Regions from separate parts of the Homo sapiens genome. Here region 2 is linked to region 1. The links are contacts of gene promoters, found by promoter capture Hi-C in human tissues and cell types (Jung and others, 2019). All regions are on one chromosome and are shown on one strand. Each heading gives the region's core, a stretch centred on a gene start or on the middle of the fragment in contact. The rest is flanking DNA. Distances are from core to core; before and after follow the strand shown.

Evidence for each region. The method cuts DNA at HindIII sites, captures the fragments that hold promoters and counts their contacts. A contact is called where the count stands out against the background at its distance.
Region 2: a contact is called between a fragment that was not itself captured here and the fragment with the promoter of TRIML1 in region 1, in 2 of the 25 tissues and cell types used here (H1 embryonic stem cells and spleen).

What each region holds. Positions count from the first base shown.
Region 1 is chr4:188,135,778-188,143,189 of GRCh38, reverse strand. It overlaps TRIML1 (tripartite motif family like 1), which reads right to left and starts at 3,749. Exons shown (of 6, transcript NM_178556.5): 1 at 3,224-3,749; 2 at 2,567-2,662; 3 at 708-938. The coding sequence starts at 3,631. The HindIII fragment of the contact is 25,840 bases long and covers 1-7,412 here.
Region 2 is chr4:188,207,772-188,215,183 of GRCh38, reverse strand. No RefSeq gene overlaps it. Among named protein-coding and RNA genes, the nearest start is that of LINC02434, 51 kb to the right of the region's middle. The HindIII fragment of the contact is 9,513 bases long and covers 1-7,412 here.

The DNA of each region.
Region 1 (7,412 bases), core at 2,500-4,999:
CAGCTACTTGGGAGGCTGAGGCAAGAGAATTGCTTGAACCCAGGAGGCGTAGATTGCAGTGAGCCAAGATTGCACCACTGCACTCCAGCCTGGGCGACAGTGCGAGACTCTGTCTCAAAAAAAAAAAAAAAGGTCCTGAAGAATGCAGCAGCCTAGAAGGGCAGTAGACCAAAGGTGGTGAGAAATAGGAGCTCCCTGCACAGAACAGGAGGGCTCTCCTGTCTATTAACTATCAGGCGGGCAGATCTCGTTAGTACCACAGGTATGAATAATTAAATCAGTGCCGCTATTAACCCATCCTGTAGATGACAGTCATCTAGACCTAGAGTTCATATCATAATGGTACTTATCTTCATCAGGTCTTTGTGAAGATTAAATTTAATGTGCCCAGCACATAGTAAATACACATTAATAAACTAGAAAAAAAAATTAACAAAGCTGAGGTTGCAGAGAGGCAGGTACAGAAGAAATTGAAGCCACTCTCAGGCTTGTTTGGGATAGTTATTCCTCTGGATGTGTTTTTTTTTTTCTCTCTCTCTCTCTTCTATAAGGCTTTATTGACATATAGAATGTCAATTCTTTAGGAAAACTACTTTTGGACCAGAACTTAGTTTTTAAGATGAATAAAGAAAACATTATTTCCTATGGCTTGAAGTACTATGAGTTACTATAATTTTTCCCATTACTCTCATGAATGTTATTCTCACCTCAAGAGATTCGAAAGCCGAGCTTTGACTTGAGGACTCAATCTGTGCGATCATTTTGCTTAGGCTTCTGATTTGCTGGGTCAGTTTGATCTCATTGTTCCTCAGCTTCCTCATGTTCTCTTTCTCTTCCTGTTCTAGTAGCTGGAGTTGCAGCTGCTCCTCTTCCTTCAGGAACTGGTGCATTTTCATGTATTCTGACACAACAACCTGTTTACAAGTCTTTGTTTCTTCCTGCCAAAACACACACACACACACACACACACACACACACACACGAGATAAAGTTAGTAAGAGAAATGCCCTTGTCTGTAGATTTTTAATCCTTACAAGTCCTAGAGTTTCTTTCTTTCTTTTTTTTTTTTTTTTTGAGATGGAGTCTCACTCTGTCGCCAGTCTGAAGTGCAGTGGCGCAATCTCGGCTCACTGCAACCTCTGCCTCCTGAGTTCAAATGATTCTCCTGCCTCAGCCTCCTGAGTAGCTGGGACTATAGTCTAGGAGTGTGCCACCACGCCCAGCTAATTTTTGTATTTTTAGTAAAGATGGGGTTTCACCATGTTGGTCAGGATTGTCTCAAGTCTCTTGACCGGGTGACCCACCCTCCTCAGCCTCCCAAAGTGCTGGGATTACAGGTGTGGGCCACCATGCCTGGCCAAGTCCTAGAGTTTCATGGCAACAATTCCTGAAATCCAACATATAATACATTTAATCTGTTGATGCGCTGGGTGTAGAGGTTGATGTTTTCGGAGGTATGTGCGCTATAGATACAATAGTAAACAAAACCAAAATCTCCATTCCCAGGAGGCGGTCGTTCTAGTGGAGAAAACCAAAAATGAGTAAGAAATATGACAAGTAGTGATCAGGACTATGATACAAATAAAACAAAATTAAGAAAAATTATGAAAAATGTGTGTTCATTTATTCAACAAATATTTATTCAATGAAAGTAGGTGTCAGATAACCAAAAAGGAACAGAAACATACATGGCAAATACTCTCACTTAAGAATTCAAAGTCTACGGCCAAGCACGGTGGCTCACACCTGTAATCCCAGCACTTTGGGAGACCGAGACAGGTGGATTACCTGAGGTCGGGAGTTCGAGATCAGCCTGGCTAACATGGTAAAACCCCATCTCCACAAATATACAAAATTAGCTGGGCATGGTGGCACACGTCTGTAATCCCAGCTACTCAGAAGGCTGAGGCAGGAGAATCACTTGAACCCGGGAGGTGGAGGTTGCAGTGAGCCGGGATCGCGCCACTGCACTCCAGCCTGGGCGACAGAGAGAGACTCCATCTCCAAAAAAAAAAAAAAAAAAACAGATTTCAAAGTCTATTGGGAGAATCAGATACATGGTTTTAAAAAATATATAATTTGATATTTAGTCCTTTGCTTTGACTGCTGGAGAGCTCAAATCCAAGTCCGTGACCAACCTTGAGGACTTGTCAGGTATCATTTAAACCACTATTTTGCTTTTATATCTCTGTCTCTTTATTTTTTTTAATTTGCATTTTCCCCTCCATGTTTTTGAGATATTTCTTTTTAAAATCGCTTTCCGTCTCATGTTACATGTCTATAAGTATCACTTGTGTTTTAAATAATTCTACCAGAGCCATCATAGAGGAAGCCACAGCGTTGTCTAGTTATGCAAAGGAGGCTCCTAGAGGGGGCGAATTGCAGCTGAGCCTTGAGACTCCCACGAGGACGCTCAGAAGAAGGCAGCCCAATGCAAGGAAACTGCATATTTTAGAGGTGAGACTGGAAAAATTTGTCTTTTTTTTTTCCTGATATTTCACTAAATTTCCCTTTAGTCCCCCTTATGGGGTCATATACAAGCAGCAAAAGTCAGACAGACACCGACCTGGCACAGTTTCACTCTCTCCTTCTCATGGGTTAGTACAGCCTGAGCTTCCTTTCTCCTTACACGCAAAAGATTCAGGATTTCCTGGAGTTTCTCCTGCAATAGAAACAAACCCTTTCTGGCAAATGAGCAGAGTCCCAGGTCATGAAGGGGCTTTGAAGACCAGTAACTGCGCAGTCCTAGGCCTCTAAAACAAAGGGCAGGCTGGGTGCGGCGCCTCACGCCTGTAATCCCAGCACTTTGGGAGGCCGAGGCAGGCGGATCACCTGAGGTCAGGAGTTCAAGACCAGCCTGGCCAACATGGTGAAACCCCGTCTCTATTAAAAATACAAAAAATTAGCCGGGCGTGGTGGTGGGTGACTGTAGTCCCAGCTACTGGGGAGGCTGAGGCAGGAGAATGGCGTGAACCTGGGAGGCGGAGGTTGCAGTGACTGAGATCGCACTGCTGCACTCCAGCCTGGGCAACAGAGCAAAACTCTGTCTCAAAAACAAAAAAAGGGAAAAAAAAGGGTGTAAACTGGACCCACGCCAGTTTGTGATGTGGTGCTCAGATGGGCCCTCGTGACTGTCCCCCACAGAGGACGTTAGGAAACGTCAGGAAAGCTAACGGAGTTAGCTGCGATGAGTCGTGGGGTTCATGCTGAGCAGCTGTCTTACTCTGTGATGCTCCTCAGCCTCGCTGGAGAGATGCACTCTGTTTGCACCATGGCTCTGGGCTACGAAGGCGCTTCCACCCTGCTCGTCATCGGAGAGCGCCTTGGCAGTGGTGGGCATCCTCCCGTAGCTGCCCTGCTCATCCTCGCTCTGCAGCACCTGGGACCGGAGCTGCCTGGCGATGCTGGCCAGCCTCCCCAGACGCTCGTTTGACTGGAAATGCGGGCCCTCCAAGGTCCTCCAGCACTCAGGACAAGATAAAGGTGTGTTATGTTCCTCCCAGCTCCTGAGGAGACACACCAGACAAAAGCTGTGCCCACACTCGGTGGTCACTGGGCTGCTGAAATAGTCTAAGCAGATGAAACAGGTGAGTTCCTCCCTGAGGTTCTCCATCAGATCTGCTGTAGACATTTTCTCGAGGCTGGATATGCAGCCAGGTTACACCTCTGTTCTGGGATTAGCAAAGCCCTCACTGCCGTCCTACAGTTTTGAGTAACACGCGGGTGACCTGTTCCTATGTTGTTATGACAAGAAACCCTTATCTCTTCTGTGCCTGATTTCACCAGCTGACATACACTGTCCAACACAAAGCCAATTATGACTTAATGTGGAACTCCTGTATACTGGGCTCCTCACCAACCCCAAACTTTGAGACTTATCTCTGTGAAAAGCACACATGCTAGAGGCTGAGGATTCTGGCTTCTAACAGGATTACCATTTTGAGAACTGGTTATTGTACATAAACAGCACTGTGGAACCATGTGAGCATGTGGGTTTTAGGCTGGAAGCTTGGGTGATTTGGTGTAAACCAGTAAAGAGATTTGAGTTTTGATGATCTCTAATAATATCTGAATTGGAAATTTGGTCCAAATCTTTTGGGAACTCCACTAATAAAACCTAGTTGAGAACTGAGAGAAGAAAACTGTAATACATAGTCCTTTTCTCATTAGCCCCTTTTGTTCTGCTTGACCAAAGCCTAAGCTTTTGTTCCTTTATTGGGTACTGTGTACTTTTATTTAATTTTATTCATCCCAACAAAATGAGAGCTCTTCCACTGAAGTATTCCTTGGTGTTAGGCGCACGATGAATTGCCAGAGCTGTTTATTGATCTTCCCTGCACACCCTAGTACTCACCCATCTGCCATCTTGGAAAGCATCTAAAATGACATTCTAATTGGAAGTTGCCTCAAGAGGCTATCCCACTATGGAGCAGATGGAAAGAATTATATTTTAGTATAAATGTAATTTTGCTCACTTATTTTCACCCATTGAAAATTTCCAAACTAGGCCCCTTCAAATCCCTGATTATCAGTTCTTACTGGACAGAAATGAAGTGTGCAGACATTTTTTCGGACATATGAAAAAGTAAATGCCTAGTGTGGAGACTGTGCACAGTGAACTCCGAGATTGGTAACAAATGCCACAAATTCACTGTGTCCCCTGCTCGGGAGTCAGCTCCTGTCCTGGCCTGCCTTCTGCTCACTGCATGCCAGGAAGTTGCACCTCAAAAGCTCTTCCTCAAAGGCCAGCGAGTTTGACCTTCCCACGAACTCATCACGCCATATTTCTGTCTCCGTCCCCTCACTCTCCAGCTTGGCAGCCTTCCACGAGTCGGGTCCATTACTCAGGCTGTTCCGTTCATTGGTTTCTGACTTTCAAGGCTCCAACTGCTACTTCTTTCCCACTTACCTCCAACAGGATGTTGGATGTTTTCTTATCTTGAACTTTGGGAAAAAGAAGTTTTCTGGCTGAGAATGTTTTTTCCTCCACCTTCCTTTCTCCTAGTCAAAACTCACCTTTCTGAAATCATTAATTCAAAATGTTTCAATCCTATACATCCCTTGTAAAGCATACGTGAATTGCTAGGATGAGAATTTAAGCTATGAAAAAATAAGAGCAAAGAGTTATACTACTGTAAAGAGGAAGAGAGGTGGCATCAGGGTGGCATCATGAAACCTCTACCAAGATAGCCTCCAGGATACTAACTTGTCACAGCTTCAGAATATTGCTATGAGTTAGTCTTGTAAGAGTCTTAAAAAAAAAAAGAAAAAAAGTTTGGCCAGGCGCGGTTGCTCACATCTGTAATCCCAGCAGTTTGGGAGGCCGAGGTGGGTGGATCACTTGAGGTCAGGAGTTTAAGACCAGCCTGGCCAACATGGTGAAACTCCGTCTCTACTAAAAATATGAAAATTAGGCCGGGTGCAGTGGTTCATGCCTGTAATCCCAGCACTTTGGGAGGCTGAGGCAGGCAGATCACTTGAGGTCGGGAGTTCGAGACCAGCCTGGCCAACATGGAGAAACTCCGTCTCTACTAAAAATACAAAATTAGCCGGGCATGGTGGCACATGCCTGTAATCCCAGCTAGTCAGGAGGCTGAGACAGAAGAATTGCTTGAACCCAGGAGGTGGAGGTTGCAGTGAGGTGAGATCACGCCATTGCACTCCAGCCTGGGCAACAAAAGCGAAACTCTGTCTCAAAAAAAAAAAAAAAAAAAGTAAAAATAGCTGGGTGTGGTGTTGCACGCCTGTAATCCCAGCTACTTGGGAGGCTGAGGCAGGAGAATCACTTGAACCCAAGAGGTGGAGGTTGCAGTGAGCCAAGATCCCACCACTGCACTCCAGCTTGGGAGACAGAGAAAGATCCCATCTCAAAAAAAAAAAAAAAAAAAAAAAAAGACTACAATAACACTAACTGCCACCACTAGAAAAAGAATTTATGAACTACCATCTCCATTCAGTGTGTTATTTCAACACAACCCCAGGAGGAGTCTTTAACATTTACCAAAATCATTAGAATAAGCCTCACAATACAGTTATAGCACATCACAGAGCCAGTATTCCAATTTGGAATAGGGAGGCTGGCATAGTCTCTGTTCAAGTCACACTGATCTGCTCTATCCCGTTTCCCTCTTCCAGATAATTTTTTTTATTTTATAGGCATCGTAACACAATAACCACGTGTTATTCATTGATGACTACAAGAATTCTTTGCACGTGGCTCGATTTTTCTGTTAATGAGTTATAAATGAATAGAGGAACTATATTATTATGGAATCATAGTCTTATATTTAGCTGGAAGTCAAGAGATCATATAGTCCAACTACCTTCTACAGATGCTGAGGAAAACTGAGGCTAGAATAAATTAAATTCATCTCCTGATACTCACTTACCACATACGCCGGATTAGGACTAGGAAACTGGAGCGCCTACCTCCCAGTCTTTCTCTTTTGTCAACACACTATACTGCATCCACTTGTTGACTTGTGAGTGGGTGAAAATTTCCAGTTATCTCAATAAAATGAACATTGCAGGCCAGGCGCGGTGGCTCACACCTGTAATCCCAGCATTTTGGGAGGCCAAGGCAGGTGGATCACGAGGTCCGGAGATCTAGACCATCCTGGCTAACACGGTGAAACCCCATCTCTACTAAAAAAATACAAAAAATTAGCCGGATGTGGTGGTGGGAACCTGTAGTCCCAGCTACTAGGGAGACTAAGACAGGAGAATGGCGTGAACCCGGGAGGCGGAGCTTGCAGAGAGCCGAGATCGCTCCACTGCACTCCAGCCTGGGAGACAGAGCAAGACTCCATCTCAAAAAAAAAAATGAACATTGTCCAATTGCTGTGAGAAGGAAGTCAGACAGCTGTCATTATGGAGTGATGGTGTGACAGGCATCTGAAATCACTGACCACATTCACTCTTGGGAAGGCAGACTTCCTTACCATCTTTCTCAACATTTTGCTTGGGCTTAATTCATAGATGAAATGCATTCATAGAATAGACCAGCCTTCCCAAAATATATGACCCAATCACACTACCAGACACGGCTTCTGAGATCAACAACTCAAGTAGCTTCTTCTCTGGCCTTTCTCTCCTGAGAGGGTGATGCTAGGAGTACTCCAAGAGGGTCACTGTCACAACTATCACCCAGATGCCATCAGGGTTGGCACATGCAGAAAAAAATGAACTTTATAGATACAGTAAGGGCTTATTTGTTGATGAGGCGGTGGACTAGTTGGGAGCTTATTTGAAAAATACATTGCTTGAAAGCCTAGCTTTAAAAATAAAGTTAGCCAGGCCCAGTGGCTTACCCCAGTAATCCCAGCACTTTGGGAGGCCAAGGCAGGTGGATCACCTGAGGTCAGGAGTTCAAGACCAGCCTGGCCAATATGGTGAAACCCTGTCTCTACAAA
Region 2 (7,412 bases), core at 2,676-5,175, 72 kb before region 1:
TGGGCAAAGGCCTTACTCAAAGTGAGCCAACGGTTAAAGCAGAAGGCAGAAGAGGATTCAAGGACGAAGATGAAAGAACCAACTGACCTTTAATCAAAAATGTCAACATGACTCAGCAATGACGAAGATCTAAGGACTGAGAAATTTCATTCTGCCGCAACTTTTCCACAACCCCATTTTGTACTACCGTTAGGTATGGGAGATACTTGTATTCTGTGTATCTGTGGTACAGTCAAGGGAGTTGTTTCATTATTCTAACTGTATCCAAAAAGTAAACTATAAAAATTGATGTAACAAAAACCCACAGTTTTCATAAGGTAGACTCATAAATAAAGTGAAATATAAAACATTTTCAAAGCACTTGAAATATGTGCAGCAAATTAGATTTTATGCTACAATGTTCGTGTCCAAAAAATTAATTCTAAAAATTAAACCCCTGTGTAACATTGTAGAAGTTGAAATGTTACCTAATTGATTCCCGTTGGCAAACATATATTTCCAAACCTTAATAAAATAATGTCTAAAAATTATACACCTATGTATGTTGAATATATCTGTAAAAAAAAATCAAAGAAAATACTAATGAAGACTTTTTAGTAATAGATTTAATTTTTTAAAATACTGTGAACAAACTGAATTTATTGCAGGAACATAATCATTCAGCAACAAGAACAAGAAACCACCTATTATTATAAAGTGCACCATTCTGCAGGAAAACTCATATTGGAGACATTCTAGAATGTAATAAATGAGTCCATGTGAAAGGGGAGGAAAAAAACCAGAGTGGATGGGGCCAACCAAGTGGGACTAACACACAAGTCATCACAGCCTCCTCAGAAATTTTGCAACAGACGAATTCGTGTGCAAAGGCCTGTAGCAAATTTCAACTCCATCCTATAGCCGAAGGAGCACGATCTGGCAACTAAGCTGCGGAGGAAAAAATAGTCTATTCATTCTGGAGCAAGGTTTCAGCAAACAGGATCTGCTCTGTGGGTTTTCTGGGAAGTGGGATCAGTCAGAGGAAAGTAGAAATGGAAAATGTGGTCAATATAAAAGAATGGAAGACTTCAGACTACAGCCAGGTGAGCGTGGTTCCAGGCAGGATCTGGTACTCCTAAGAGAAATCAACGTGCACTCAGGAAAGCAAAACCATAGCCACTGTCTTGGTCTGTGTTTTTTCAACTGGAAACTCTGAGGCAAGAATTGGGTTCAAATAGTTTATTGGGGAGCTTTTCAGATAAGCTGTGAGGTGTATTTCAGGAAGCCTCACACCATCATTCTGAGAGATGGAGGTGGACGAAGAAGGAGTTGTCACCAAGCTGCATCAGACCTCCACAGTGGGCCAAAAGAATATGGACAAGTCACAAACAGGATCTGCTACACTCTACTACAGAGAGTAAGAAGCAGAGGGCCAGGGAAAGAACATACACGCCGGAAGTTCACTGCGGGCACGCTGGATGAATAACAATCGTTTCAGACACCGGGAATGGTCCAAATCCACTCCTACGCTGCCTCCACTCGAACAGGGCAAGATAGAGAGCTTGACGGTCTTAAGCATCTACAGCTGAGTGAGAATAGAGCAATCTGAATAGACACCATTACCATAGGTTAAAAAGACTGAAAGAAGAAAACAAATATATATATACACACACACACACAATACACACACACACACACATATACTTTCAACTAATATCAGAAAAATATATATATTTTGGAGATGCAGTCTCGCTCTGTTTCCCAGGGTGGGGTGTAGTGGTGCGATCTCGGCTCACTACAACCTCTGCCTCCAGGGTTCAAGCAATTCTACTGCCTCAGCCTCCTGAGTAGCTGGGATCACAGGCACCCGCCACCACGCCCGGCTACTTTTTTAATTTTTAGTAGAGACGGGGTTTCACCGTGTTAGCCAGGATGGTCTCGATCTCCTAACCTCGTGATCCACCCGCCTAGGCCTCCCAAAGTGCTGGGATTACAGGCGTGAGCCACCGCAACCGGCCAGAAGAATATTTTTTAAAAGAACAATATTCGTTCCCAATTTAAATATTTTGAAAAAGGAAAAAATAGTTTCTCTTCTGATGAAACAAAATTATTTTAAACTAAAAGTTAATGTTAAACTTCCTCCAAAATCCCAGTCATTCTTTTTAAAACTGGGAAGAAATCAGTACGGCAACAACTGCCACAAATGTTAGTGTTTTAAGAATTCAGACGATACACTTAGATATAACCAAAAACACTGGGAACAAATAGTGAAAAACAAATGAACGAAACATTGTTGTTTGATAACAACAACAACAAAAATTCAAAAATGCTATACGAATTCTAAAATTGACTTTAACAAAAAGAAAATGATATAAAATAAATAAAATCTCAATAGTGTGTATGACTGTCAGCAACACACAGCTAAATATAATCCAAATTAATATTGTATTTGGCCGGGCGCTGTGGCTTATGCCTGTAATCCCAGCACTTCAGGAGGCCGAGGCAGGTAGATCACCTGAGGTCAGGAGTTCGAGACCAGCCTGACCAACATGGCAAAACCCCGTCTCTACTAAAAATACAAAAATTACCTGGGCGTGGTGGCAGGTGCCTGTAATCTCAGCTACTTAGGGGGCTGAGGCAGGAGAATCGCTTGAACCTGGGAGGCTGAGGCGGAAGTTGTAGTGAACAAAGATCGCGCCATTGCACTCCATCCTGAGCGACAAGAGCAAAACTCCATCTCACAAAAAAAAAAAGAAATATATATATATATAGTATTTGTATTAGAAATGTTGAGAATGAAAGTAACAGTAAAATATGTGACCTACAGAAAGAAAAAAATCAAAACCTTCTAGAGAATTTCTGTTTAAAAATCAGTAAAAGTTTTCTAGCTTACTGCTAGATAAAAGACTTTCACCTTTATTACAACACAAAAAAATACTCATATTAAGATCATTTGTGGACTCCCTTTTCCAAACCCAAGGTGTTCATTTCAGATCTCACACCAGTAGGCATCTCCTCAGATTTGTATTTGTTAACCATGCCTTGCTTTGAGAATCTTTCTTCTTTTGAAATCTTCAGAATTTTCTCTCTCCTAGTTTCCTCCAATCTCCAGTTTCTACTTCCCACTTTCTTTCCTTGGCCTCCCCTCTCTCTATATAACCTAATATTGAGATCCTTTCATGTTTTTATGTTTTCCTTATTTTCACTTTCAAAACCCAAATTTCCACCTAGTTCACACCTCAATATACTGTAATTTGACTTTGAACATGTCCAACACATCTGCTCCTAGACTGCAAACTTTACCAAAACAAAAATAAATATCTAATTCATCTTTGTATAACCAATGCCGCATTAACACAGAGCTTGGCATATAAAAGACTTAATACATGTTTGTTAAATAAATGAACAGATTTAAAATTTGTTAAATTTATGACAATTTATAAACTAAATTCATTTTTTAAATGTGGTAAATATATATAATGGAATACTATTCAGCCATAAGAAGAATGATGTCCTGTCATTCACGGCAACATGGATGAGCCTGGAGGACTTTATGTGAAGGGAAATAAGCCAGGCACAGAAACACAAATACGTTCTCACTCATATGTGGGAGCTTAAAAAGTTGATCTCATTGAAAGAGAGAGCAGAATGCAGGTCACCAGGGGCTGGGAACTGGCGGAGAAGGATGAAGAGAGGTTGCTTAACATGTACAAACATAATTAGACAGAAGGCATAAGTTCTAGTGTTCAATAGCACAGTAGAGTAACAGTAGTTAACAATAATTTATTGTATATTTCAGAATAACTAGATTTAAAATGTTCTCAACGGCCGGGCACAGTGGCTCACGCCTGTAATCCCAGCACTTTGGGAGGCCGAGGCGGGCGGATCACGAGGTCAGAAGATCAAGACCATCCTGGCTAACATGGTGAAACCCCGTCTTTACTAAAATACAAAAAATTAGCCGGGCGTGGTGGTGGGCGCCTGTAGTCCCAGCTACTCGGGAGGCTGAGGCAGGAGAATGGCGTGAACCCAGAAGGCGGAGCCTGCAGTGAGCTGAGATTGCGCCACTGCACTCCAGCCTGGGCGACAGAGCGAGACTCCGTCTCAAAAAAAAAAATAAATAAATAAATAAATAAATAAATAAATAAATAAATAAATAAAATGTTCCAACACAAAGAAATGAGGTTTGCGATGATAGGTATCCTGACATGTTCACTGCATTGTATGCAGAGATCAAAATATCACCTATGGCCAGGCACGGTGGCTCCCACCTGTAATCCCAGCACTTTGGGAGGCCGAGGCGGGCAGATCACTATGTCAGAAGATCCAGACTATCCTGGCCAATACGGTGAAACCCCGTCTCTACTAAAAATGCAAAAATTAGCTGGGCGTGTTGGGGGACGCCTGTAATCCCAGCTACTCAGGAGGCTGAGGCAGGAGAATCACTTGAACCTGGGAGGCGGAGGTTGCAGTGAGTCCAGATGGCGCCACTGCACTCCAGCCTGGAGATAGGGCGAGACTCTGTCTAAAAAAAAAAAATAAATAATAAATAAATAAATAATCACATGTACCCCATATATGGGTATGATTATTATGTATCAATTTTAAAAAATAAGGAAGTTGAAAGAGTTCCATCAGACTATATTACACATCACCAAAAAAGCCATTTGGTAAAACTGCAATGAGATACAACTGCACACCCACTAGCATGTCTAAAGCTAAAACAACTGACTGTACCAAGTGTTGCCCAGTATGTGGAGGGACTAAAACTCTCACATGCTGGTAGTAGGAATGTCGAATACACGGAACTTTGGAAAAGAGTTTGGCGATTTCTTACAAAGTTAAATACACACCTACCGTATGACCCAGCCAATTTTAGGTATTTATCCAAGAAAGATAAAAGTATATGCTCATTGAAAAAGCTATCCACAAATGTTTATATCAAGTTTCTTTGTAGAGGAGAAGACCAGAAAAGTCAATGGGATAACTTTCTACATAAAACTGTTTATTTTAAGCATTAAGCTTGCTAAGATTGGGGGGACAGATGCATTAGGGATTTAGGAATGGGGGAAGATGTGAGGGTCTTATCCAGCATGAGTGCCTTAGCAGGTTAGTGAATAGGATGCACGCATCCGTATTCTGCCCTCAGCTTGGCTGCGTGCTCTTGTGATCGGTTGTGTTAGGAGATACAGTTGCAAGCAGGGATGTTTGTTTGGGGAAACGCCTGTGAGACTGACTGAAAGGAAAGAAGAATGGACTGTCTGAGGAAACAACATCAATCTGAAATTAAATCTTCCTTGACATTGCCCAGAGTAACTTATTCTGGCTTTCCAAGGGTGAGATGACTGATAGCAAAGCTGAAAGTACATGATTCTAGTTTTTTGTTGTTGTTTTTTTTTTTTTTTTCAGATGGAATCTCGCTCTGTTGCCAGGCTGGAGTGCAGTGGGGCGATCTCGGCTCACTGCAAGCTCCGCCTCCCAGGTTCACCCCATTCTCCTGCCTCAGCCTCCGGAGTAGCTGGGACTACAGGCGCCCGCCACCACGCCCGGCTAATTTTTGTATTTTTAGTAGAGACGGGGTTTCACCATGTTAGCCAGGATGGTCTCGATCTCCTGACCTCGTGATCTGCCCACCTCGGCCTCCCAAAGTGCTGGGATTACAGGCGTGAGCCACCGTGCCCGGCCACACGATTCGTAAATAAATTTCTTTGCATGGTTCCAATTTATGCTACTCCATGTATTACTTCTGATACCCAGAGACACAAGGCTGCTGCCACACCTGTGCAGCATGAGACCACCATACACACTTCCGTGCACTTCTCTTTCCCGTACTCAGGCGTGACCTACAGAATTATGTATTCCCCACAATATTCCAGGATTGCACCACGCGACACGGAATGTGCCACAAGCACAACCATGAAAATGTAATATAAGTGGCAAATCTGAGGCCAAAGCAAAACAAAAGTAAGAAGTAAGATGAGCTGGAGCTGTGGGTGATAAACAAAGATAATGGGTACGTAATTTATCACCTAAACACAGAGCACTTCGGAAAGGGCAGGGAGTGAGTCTCCACCAACATAAATAAATGACTGCACAGCACAAGTAAATAAATGAATGGGGAGAAGAGACAAATCTCCTTAACAGAAGGATTCCTAGCAATCGATGGACACTGCACCTGCAGAAGGGAAGCGTGAGTCACTGCTCCGTACGTGTGAGCTGCACACAGTGACCTCCCTCTGAGGAGTTCAGTGTGGGGTGGGGGGAGTGGGTCTGCAATGAAGAAACCTAACCAACGCTTCTCGGCAGGGGATCGAGGTCAACATCCACTGTGAGGAATCCTGTAGTATGCACCTCTGATGTGAGGCGAGAGGAACGCCGCTTTGCCGCTCTTGTCTTCCTCTCCAGAACTCGTAATACCGATCAAATGATGAGAAGAACATCAGATAAATTTCAACAGAGGGCATCCTGCAGAATGATTGACCAGTACTCCTCAAAACTGTCAAGGTCCTCGAAAACAAGGAAAATCTGAGAAACAGCCCCAGCCAAGGAGAGCCTGCGGGGCGTGACAACTCAGGGCAAGGTGGGATCCTGGAACTGAAAAAGACATCAGGTAAAACTAAAGATGTCAGAATAAAACACAGACTTTAGTTAATAGGACAGTAAGGCCTCACTTAGACCTCCTCAATAGAGGAGGAGACCTTAGACCTCCTCAATAGGTTCTTGGAATAATGAAACCAATTTTCCAACAGGCTAATTGATATAGAGAAGAATTCAGTTCTATAGCATATTTCTGGTCACAAAAACATCCTTCTATCAATTATTCTAGTATTTTATTTTATTTTTATTTTTGAGATGGAGTCTCGCTCTGTCACCCAGGCTGGAGTGCCGTGGCGCGATCTCAGCTCATTGTAATCTCTGTCTCCCATGTTCAAGAGACTCTTCTGCCTCAGCCTCCTGAATAGCTGGGACTACAGGTGCCCGCCACCATGCCTGGCTAATTTTTGAATTTTTGTATTTTAGTAGAGATGGGGTTTCACCGTCTGCATCAGGCTGGTCTCGAACTCCTGGCCTCAGCTGTTCCTCGCGCTCCTAAAATGCTAATTACAGGTGTGAACCACTGCACCCAGCCTACTTTTATGTTTTTTTTCTGTTTCTTCCAAACTACCATTTCTCTTCATTAATTATCTCTCTATTTTCTAGTTTATATATATATAAACTAAATAAATATAAATATGTAAACATAAAGTGTATGTGTGTGTATATATACACACACACACACACACTTTTTTGTGGGGGCATGGAGTCTCGCTCTGCCTCAGCCTCCGGAGTAGCTGGGACCACAGGCGCCCACCACCACACCCGGCTAGTTTTTTGTATTTTTAGTAGAGACGGGGTTTCACCATGTTGGCCAGGATGGTCCTAATCTCCTGACC